Regions from separate parts of the Homo sapiens genome. Here regions 2 and 3 are each linked to region 1. Evidence: promoter capture Hi-C in 16 types of primary human blood cells and fetal thymus (Javierre and others, 2016). All regions are on one chromosome and are shown on one strand. The core of a region is centred on a gene start or on the middle of the fragment in contact, and the rest is flanking DNA. Distances in the headings are between cores, read along the strand shown. Region 1 holds the start of PPP1R14C (protein phosphatase 1 regulatory inhibitor subunit 14C). Region 2 overlaps IYD (iodotyrosine deiodinase). Region 3 has its middle 5.6 kb from the start of IYD.

Region 1 (2,834 bases), core at 145-2,644:
GGCGCGGTGGCTCACACCTGTAATCCCAGCACTTTGGGAGGCCCAGGCGGGCGGATCATGAGGTCAGGAGTTCGAGACCAGAATGACCAACATGGTGAAACCCTGTCTCTACTAAAAATACAAAAATTAGCTTGGTGTGGTGGCGAAAGCCTGTAATCCCAGCTCTTCAGGAGGGTGAGGCAGGAGAATCGCTTGAACCCCGAAGTCAGAGGTTGCAGTGAGCCGAGATCTCGCCACTGCTCCCCAGCCTGGGCAACAGAGAGACTCCGTCTCAAAAAACAAAACAAAACAAAACCGTTACTAAAAGCCGCTTACTTGTATTCATTCGGACGTCTCTGTGGTTTCTATCAGTTCCTGAACAGGAATGTATTGTTGTGTACAAGAAGAATATGTTAGTGTCTCCCTAATTTTACACATGCAGTTTTCTGTTTACAACTTCCCTCCCCACCTTATTGTCCTAACCCTTCTGAGAAGCTCCTTCATGTGTAACTACTAGGCTGTGATGTTTTGCAGTAGAGTCAGGCAGTGCTGTTGCCCTCCTGGGTGGAAGGGGCTGTTTGGAATGGGATGGAGAGAAAGCTGGCAGTGCACGGGACGCAACACTAGAAATGTGAAACCAGGACCCTGTCGCCGACCCTCTTAGAGAAATGTTTACTGTCTGGATGCCCCCAGACGCCTTGCCTGAGCGCCGTCACGCTTTCTGCCCTTTGGATACGAAGATATCCGAATGCTGTGCCCATGATTAAGCAGACGCTTAGTAAGGAAAGAAAACATTGGTCTGGAAATAATTTCTCAAGCGCCGTGACTGCCTTATTGCACAAACATCGCCTCTTCGATGTTTCTCACAATCCAGAGAGGAAGTGGCATCCATCGTGGCATGAATAGGAATGTGTGTTTGGAGCCGTGGGGCGGGGCTGGAGGGGAGGGGACGCTACCCAGCCAACAGAGGAGACGGTGGGGCTAGGAAAACCTCCTGGGGGAGCCTGCGGCGCGGTCCTTTCCTGTGTCCCCTTCGCTGCGGGTCCTGCCCGGGGCCGCGCCAGGTGGAGGCCCCGAGAGGCGGCGCGTTTCCTGCGCTCCGGGATTGCGGGAGAAGCGTGAGTCCCTGTCTCCGAGACTAGAGGCCACGGACACCCGCGCAGGAGCATCCCCTGGCACCCCGCCCCACGCCCGTCCTTCCGGAGTCTACACATCGGCGACCTCCCGTGTCTAGGCGCACACATTTCCCGCCCCGCGGAGACTCCCACGCCCCGGGCCCTCTCTGCCGCAGGCGCCAGATCCCGCCTCTGGGGGCTGGACCGAGAGGGTCCTCGGCGGCTTCTTTAAGGCTGCGGTCCCCGCCCCGTCGTCCTCCCCGCCCTCCTCCCTCTCGCCGCGGCTCCTCCCGCCCTCCCAGAGCAGCCGGGCGGCTGGGCGCGCGCGGCGCAGAGCAGGTGCCGGGGAGCCCTTCGCATGCGGCTGCCGGGCCGGAGGTGGTAGCGGCGCCGGGCGCGCTCCGCCCGCCCCTCCTCCGGGCCGCACTGAGGCTCGGGCGCGCGGGGACATGTCGGTGGCGACGGGCAGCAGCGAGACGGCCGGCGGGGCCAGCGGCGGCGGCGCACGGGTTTTCTTCCAAAGCCCCCGGGGTGGCGCCGGTGGCAGCCCCGGCTCCAGCAGCGGCTCAGGCTCCTCCCGGGAGGACTCGGCGCCCGTGGCCACGGCGGCCGCTGCAGGGCAGGTTCAGCAGCAACAGCAGCGGCGACACCAGCAGGGAAAAGTGACAGTGAAATACGATCGTAAGGAGCTTCGGAAGCGGCTGGTGCTGGAGGAATGGATCGTGGAGCAGCTGGGTCAGCTCTACGGCTGCGAGGTACCTGGGCGCGGGGCTGGGAGGGTCGGGGACCTCTCTAGCTCCTCTGTGCCCGCGCAGTAATTTTCCCGGGCTCCAGCTCCGGGGCGCGCATGTCCCTGACTCCCGGGGACCAAGTGCCAGGAGCGAGGCGCGGCGCCTTCTCTCCCCCGCGGTGCCCTCTGGCGTCGGGCTCAGCGGTTGGGACGCCCCTGTCTGGGTTCGGCTGCCGGTGCCCGGGGATCTGCGGGCCCCCTTGGTGGCCGTGGGGAGGGTTGGGTCCCGCGGAGCACAGTGCTTTTCTCCGAGCTCCGGGCGCCTCTGGGCTCCAGCTGCAGCTGCGCAAAGCGGGGCTCGGAGGGGCTCACTCCAGCTGCGCCTCAGCAGCGGTTGGGGATACAGCAGCCAAAGAGAGCAGCGCTCACTGCTGGGATCCGGGCAGCCCTGATTTTTGTGGAGAACGAGCAGGGAAGGAAGGAAGCTGCCTCGTGGAAAGGAGAGGTTCTGGGGATCTCAGAGGCCCCCTTGGTTCTTGAAATTCCCCGTGAAAATCCTGAGATGGAACGCTTTCCGCTTTCCAGCCAGCCCCGACGGTGTCTCCATAATTCCGCCCTGCATTATCAGAGCTGCACACGTTGTGCTTTGTTGAAGCCGTAGTTTTTCCTCTCTAAGCTCAGTTACTCCCATTGATGGGCGCAGAATGAGCATCTGGGGCAACCTCGACGGGTGCCTCGGTGGAAGGGCGGGAGCCCTGCGGGGGGCCTGCGGGATCCCGGGATCTGTCAGCTTCAGGCTCCCAGCTCCCCTCTCCTCCACGACATCGTGACTTCCCAAGGTCCAGGGACTAAGGTCATACACAAGTCTCAGGGACGTGTATACATTTGATTTAGGGAGAAATATGTAGAATAAACTGCAGCAAAACGACTGAAGCCAAAATGATCTCTCATGAGCATCTTGAATAACAGTTATTAATTCTAAATGAAGTGACCTCCTCTTAAGGGAGTGG
Region 2 (2,834 bases), core at 177-2,676, 250 kb after region 1:
TTTCTAATTTTAAAAGAAGAGAAAGAAAAAAGTTCTTGTAAAAAAAAAAAAAAAAAAAGAATTTACCAGCCCTCTTGAATCTGTAGATCTGGTATTTTTCATGAGTTCTGCAAAAATCTCAGATGCTATCTTTTCAAATATTGCCTCCACCATATACTCTTTGAATCAAATGATCAAATGTATATTAGACATTCTCACTCTTCACTCTGCTCTATTTTTTCTTGCCCTTTCCTCTATATTTTCTATCTTTTTGTCTCTCCTTGCCCAATTCTAAGTGTTTTCTTCTGACTTACCTCCCAGTTCATTAATTTTTCTGTAGCTAGTGTAACCTGCTAGTCAACCATCCTTTTAAGTTCTTAATTCTATTATTTTTCAATTCCAGAAGTTCTCTATTTTTTCAGATTGTTTATATTAGCTTTTATTCTTTATTTTTGCTGTTGTTTTTATTTTTTCTTCTTTTTAATTTTTTTCCTTTTATTCTTTCCTGTACCCTACAGATTTATATAAGCTTGTCTTTTTTCTCTAAATACAGTAATCATAGTTGTTTTATCTTCTGGGTCTGATAATTCCAGTATTTGGAGTCTTTGGGCATCTGACTTTATTTTTTTAAAATTGATTCTGCTGTTTCTTGTCCAATATGTTTTCTTCTTTATGTGCCTGATTGCATTTGATGGGTTGCTGATGATTGTACTTAAAATTATTTGTATATTGGCATTTTCTTCTGCTAGACAACTGGGGTACTTTCAGGCAGGACAAGTTTATTCCAAGTTCAAGTTTGAGGCAAGACTCATCAAACTGATATAAACCGTTGAGGAATAATTTACTTATGATTGACACTTCCCCTAAGGATGTAGTTTTGGGGTCCTAGCTTATTAGACTTCACATTCTGTGTGGGCCTGGGCTTTGATATCTGTCACCCTTAATCCCTGAAGATATAAAAATGGAATTCAAATGTGTAGGGATTGGCAAATACAGTAGAGAAAAAAATGTACCTTCTGCACTTATCTACCTGTGTGAGTTCATATTTTCTCTTCACTTTGGCCTGCAAATTTCTTGCTATGTTGTAGGCTCAACGATTTTAAAAAAGACTTTGAAAAATACTTTATTTAGAGATCTGAGTGGTTTTCAACTGACAGGAGATTGTTTCAAATAACCTAGTCCATCATTAACAGAAATGTGAATTCCTCATCTTTTTTTGGTAAAATTTTTCTTTTTCTAGATTTATAGTCTGGAGTTTTTGCTTTCTTTCTTTCTTTCTTTCTTTCTTTCTTTCTTTCTTTCTTTCTTTCTTTCTTCTTTCCTTCCTTCCTTTCTCTTTTTTTTTTTTTTTTGATGGAGTCTCACTCTGTCACCCAGGCTGGAGTGCAGTGGTGCAATCTCGGCTCACTGCAACTTCTGCCTCCCAGGTTCAAGCGATTCTCATGCCTCAGCCTCCCAAGTAGTTGGGATTACAGGTGTGCACCACAACACCTGGCTAATTTTTGTATTTTTAGTAAAGACGGGGTTTCACCATGTTGACCAGGCTGGTCTCGAACTCCCAACCTCAAGTGATCCGCCTGCCTTGGCCTCCCAAAATGCTGGGATTATAGGCGTAAGCCACCACGCCCGGACTTTTCTTCCTTTTTTTAAAAAGAGACTGGGTCTGTCTCCATTGCCCAGGCTAGAGTGCAGTGGTGTGATGATAGCTCACTGCAGCCTTGAACTCCTGGGCTCAAGCGATCCTCTCACCTCTGTCTCCAGAGCAGCTGGGAATACACATGTGAGCCATTGCACCCAGCTGGAGTTTTAAGGATAGTCAAGATCAGTGGTAAGGATTCTGTAAATCTATTCTTTTTTCATTTTATAGTATTTTTTTGAGTTCATAACCTTACACATTTAAGCACTTTATCTTCTTCTCCCCAGCGGTCACCTTATGACCAAGGGATCATTTAGTTTGTTACCTTTCTTATTCTTATTTGCAGATGCTGATGAATGGCAAGAATCAGAAGAAAATGTTGAACACATCCCCTTCTCTCATAACCACTATCCTGAGAAGGAAATGGTTAAGAGGTCTCAGGAATTTTATGAACTTCTCAATAAGAGACGGTCAGTCAGGTTCATAAGTAATGAGCAAGTCCCAATGGAAGTCATTGATAATGTCATCAGAACGGCAGGTTTGTAATTGCAGATGGGGTCTTTGGAAATGTTAGTCACCTTACTGGTGTGACTCCAACAATGGAAAAATGTCAAAGTTTAAACATAGCGAATAAAGCCTAGAGTGATATGTTTATCTATAAAGTCTTACCCAAATGCTGAGTGAGTGCCAGAAACACAATGACTTCTACTTTCCACATTTTGACTATTACAAGCTTCTTGGAAGAAGATGTGACAATAGTTCAAAACTTCTGAAATTATTCAGTTCATGATCTTTTAATTAAAAACCAAGATTTCTGATCACATCATTATATTAATATATTGGAGGAGATACACCTTCTTTCTTTCCCTCTCCTTAAAACACACCAGACATACACACACTCGCATACTCACAGTTATATTTGTTTTTTTTGGAAGCAAATTTCTTATATTACACACCATGATGCTGTAGTACAGTATTCTCATTAACTAGCAAAGTTTACTTATGTAAATTTGCACAGTAAAACAAAGCAAGAAAAAACCCATTTTTAATGTAAATTAATATTTCCACTGAGGAAAAAAAATCAGAGCTACAGAAAATGGGGAGGAGAAATAAGAGAAAGCTCCCTACTTGAGAATCTCCTGTGATTGGAGTCTTATTCTTACATAAACCATATTTAAGTTTATTTGCAAAAATTATCACATGCCCGTTATTAATCTAT
Region 3 (2,834 bases), core at 122-2,621, 220 kb after region 1:
GTAAATTCAGAGACACCAACCACATCTCTACACACACTGTTTAGTTCCACTGGCCTTTTTGTGGGGGAGAGGGGACAAGACTTTCCTGAGGAAGGAAGCTGCGTTGATTACATTCTGGCACAAGCTCCTTTCTGGACTGGCACCTTGAGCAGCACTGTCCCAGAAGACAATGAGTTCAAGACTACATAAAAGCTTCAGCTCCTCCGTGGGTCCTGTCCCCTCTTAGCCTAAATCAGGGACTCTGTGTGTGTGCGATTCTATTGTCAGCCCACAGTTTAACAAACAAAGAGAGGCTCTCTAAAAAAAATAATTTTTACTTAAGGATTAGGAAATTGCAAGGTAATACGCATGCCGTAATAAGCTATGTTCATATTCAGGGAGGTAAGGGAAAATCATTTCTTTCTTTTATTATTAGTATTTTTAATTTCTAATTTAAATTTTATTATTATTTTCCCTTACCTCCCCAAATATGAACATAGCTTATTAATGGCATGCGTATTTTATTTTGATATAAAATAACTATCTCAAAATTTTGAGATAATTATCCTTGGCTACAAGGACCAATAATAAGAATGATGCCAATTCGAGATTGGACAGGCTGTTGCTGGGCAGATGTCCTCCCAGAAGTATTTTTTTTGTGTAAGGTTGTGATGACCTTTGTGTGAGATTATGGTTTTTGCAATCTTTTGGGAGAGTTCTGACACCTGCTACAACATGGATGAACCTCGAGGCCATTGTGGTAAGTGAAATAAGCTGGTGACAAAAGGACCAATGCTGTGTAGTTTCACATGATACGAGGTGCCTAGAGTCATCAAATTCACAGAGAGAGAAAGCAGTCTGGAGGTTACCTGGGGCTGGGGGAAGGTGAAAGGGGCTATTTAATGGGTCTCGAGTTTCTGGTGGCCTGGTGAAGAAGGTTTGGAAATACTGGTGATGGTTGCACAACATTGTGAATGTAACTGTAATGCCACCAACTGTACCCTTACAAGCGGTTAAGATGATCAACTTAATGCTATATATAGTTTACCACAATAAAAAATACAAAAAGTGCATGTTAATATATACATCTACTAGGTACCCCCAAAAATTTTCAAAATATTTTTTAAAAAAATTTAAGTGCATGCTAGTTGAAAAAAATCAAATTATATATATATGTATGTGTGTGTATATATATGTGTATATATATGTGTATATATGTGTATATATATGTATATATGTATATATATGTGTGTGTGTGTATATATATGTGTATGTATATATAAATAGCAAAGGTGAGAGAGGCCTGAGATAGGCAACAACCCTCCTCCCCTTCCCCTAGTCTCCAAAAATGCAAGGGAACAAATATCCCAAGAGACTTGGAAACTACTCCCAAGGGGCATGGAGATTGGTTGATGATGGACCAGCCAGAAGGGCCCTGTGATCTGGGTTTGGAGGTGGTGGGAGGCAGACTATGTCTGGGTGTAGGTGCAGCCTGCACACTGCCTGTTGCCTAAGACCACCAGGACTAGACCCTTCCGTGGGACCCACCAAGATGGGGCCACACCAAGACCCGCTTCTCTCTCTCTCAGTACCAGGACACTCTGTGGGCACCCGGGGAAATGGAAGGGCAAGAGACAGAATGATATTTGTCTCTGTATTAAAATAGAAGGGGTAAAATGGTCATTTACTTATTTGTTTATTTGTTACTTATTTGAGACAATGTCTTAGTTCATTCTCACACTGCTATAAAGATACTACCTGAGACTGGGTAATTTATGGGGGGAAGTACAACACTTTTAAACCATCAGATCTCATGAGAGCTCACTCACAATGATGAGAACAGCCTGGGGAAACCGCCCCCATGATCCAATCACCTCCCACCACATCCCTCCCTGACACAAGGGGATTACAATTTGAGATAAGATTTGGGTGAGGGCACAGAGCCAAACCATATCAGACAGGATCTTGCTCTGTCACTCAGGCTGGAGTGCAGTGGTGCCATCATAGCTCACTGAAGCCTCAAACACTTGAGCTCAAGTGATCCTCACTTAACCTCCCGAGTAGCTATGGGCCACCATGCCTGGCTAATTTTTTTATTTTTTATTTTGGTAGAGATGAGGTCTTGCTATGTTGACAGGCTGGTCTCAAACTCCTGGCCTCAAGTAATCCTCTTGCCTCGGCCTCCCAAATCACTGGGATTACAGTCATGAGCCACCGTGCCTAGCCAAAATTGTCTTGATAGCAAAATTAAATTTTCTGTCATCAGTGGAAATGAAATGATTAAACCAGACAACCAATCTGAAGTAAATAATGAAACACAACCAGTGTGAAAGTGTTTCATACCATCTTCCAAAGCATCCATCCGTAGCACACCCTTCCTTTTCCTCAGCTGATGAGAAAAACGTATTGGGAAGACAAGTTGACCAGGATGCTTTAGAGCTACTCAGAGTAGAGAGATAGTTGGGCCTTCCACAAGTCAGCAGTGTGGCAACTTACTATGCCCCCAACCACAGCTCTTCTTCTAAGGTAAAACCAAATGGAAACCCTGATATTAGCAGAGGCCTTTACCAATCAAGCTTGGTGGGGACCACAAGGCATTTGCTATCTTGACTTGACCGTGAAAGAGAGGCCTGGCCATGGAGATGGGTTGGATATGGAGAACTAGGGGTCTAGCTCAGGTTAGCATTATGGGAATCCACATCAAGAAGGAGGCAGGGATGGCATCGTGGAAATCCAAGAGCGAGAGTCCTGGGAAGGAAGCACTTCACTGGCCCTGCAGGTGCTTTGGAATATAAAGCAGTGTGGACACCAGAGCTCCGGGGCTGTGTGCCTCCCGTCCTGGCATCACCGTGACC

The links. Contacts are between HindIII fragments. The CHiCAGO score rates a contact against its expected background, and 5 or more counts as called.
Region 2: a contact is called between a fragment that was not itself captured here and the fragment with the promoter of PPP1R14C in region 1, in 1 of 17 cell types (endothelial precursors). The highest score is 5.0, in endothelial precursors.
Region 3: a fragment that was not itself captured here is called in contact with the fragment with the promoter of PPP1R14C in region 1 in 1 of 17 cell types (endothelial precursors); the score reaches 5.5 in endothelial precursors.

Annotation. Positions count from the first base shown.
Region 1 is chr6:150,141,650-150,144,483 of GRCh38, forward strand. PPP1R14C (protein phosphatase 1 regulatory inhibitor subunit 14C) reads left to right here and starts at 1,395. Exons shown (of 4, transcript NM_030949.3): 1 at 1,395-1,849. The coding sequence starts at 1,544. The HindIII fragment of the contact is 13,068 bases long and covers 1-2,834 here.
Region 2 is chr6:150,387,391-150,390,224 of GRCh38, forward strand. IYD (iodotyrosine deiodinase) reads left to right here. Exons shown (of 5, transcript NM_203395.3): 2 at 1,962-2,153. Among named protein-coding and RNA genes, the nearest start is that of IYD, 20 kb to the left of the region's middle. The HindIII fragment of the contact is 1,840 bases long and covers 507-2,346 here.
Region 3 is chr6:150,361,980-150,364,813 of GRCh38, forward strand. No RefSeq gene overlaps it. Among named protein-coding and RNA genes, the nearest start is that of IYD, 5.6 kb to the right of the region's middle. The HindIII fragment of the contact is 2,363 bases long and covers 191-2,553 here.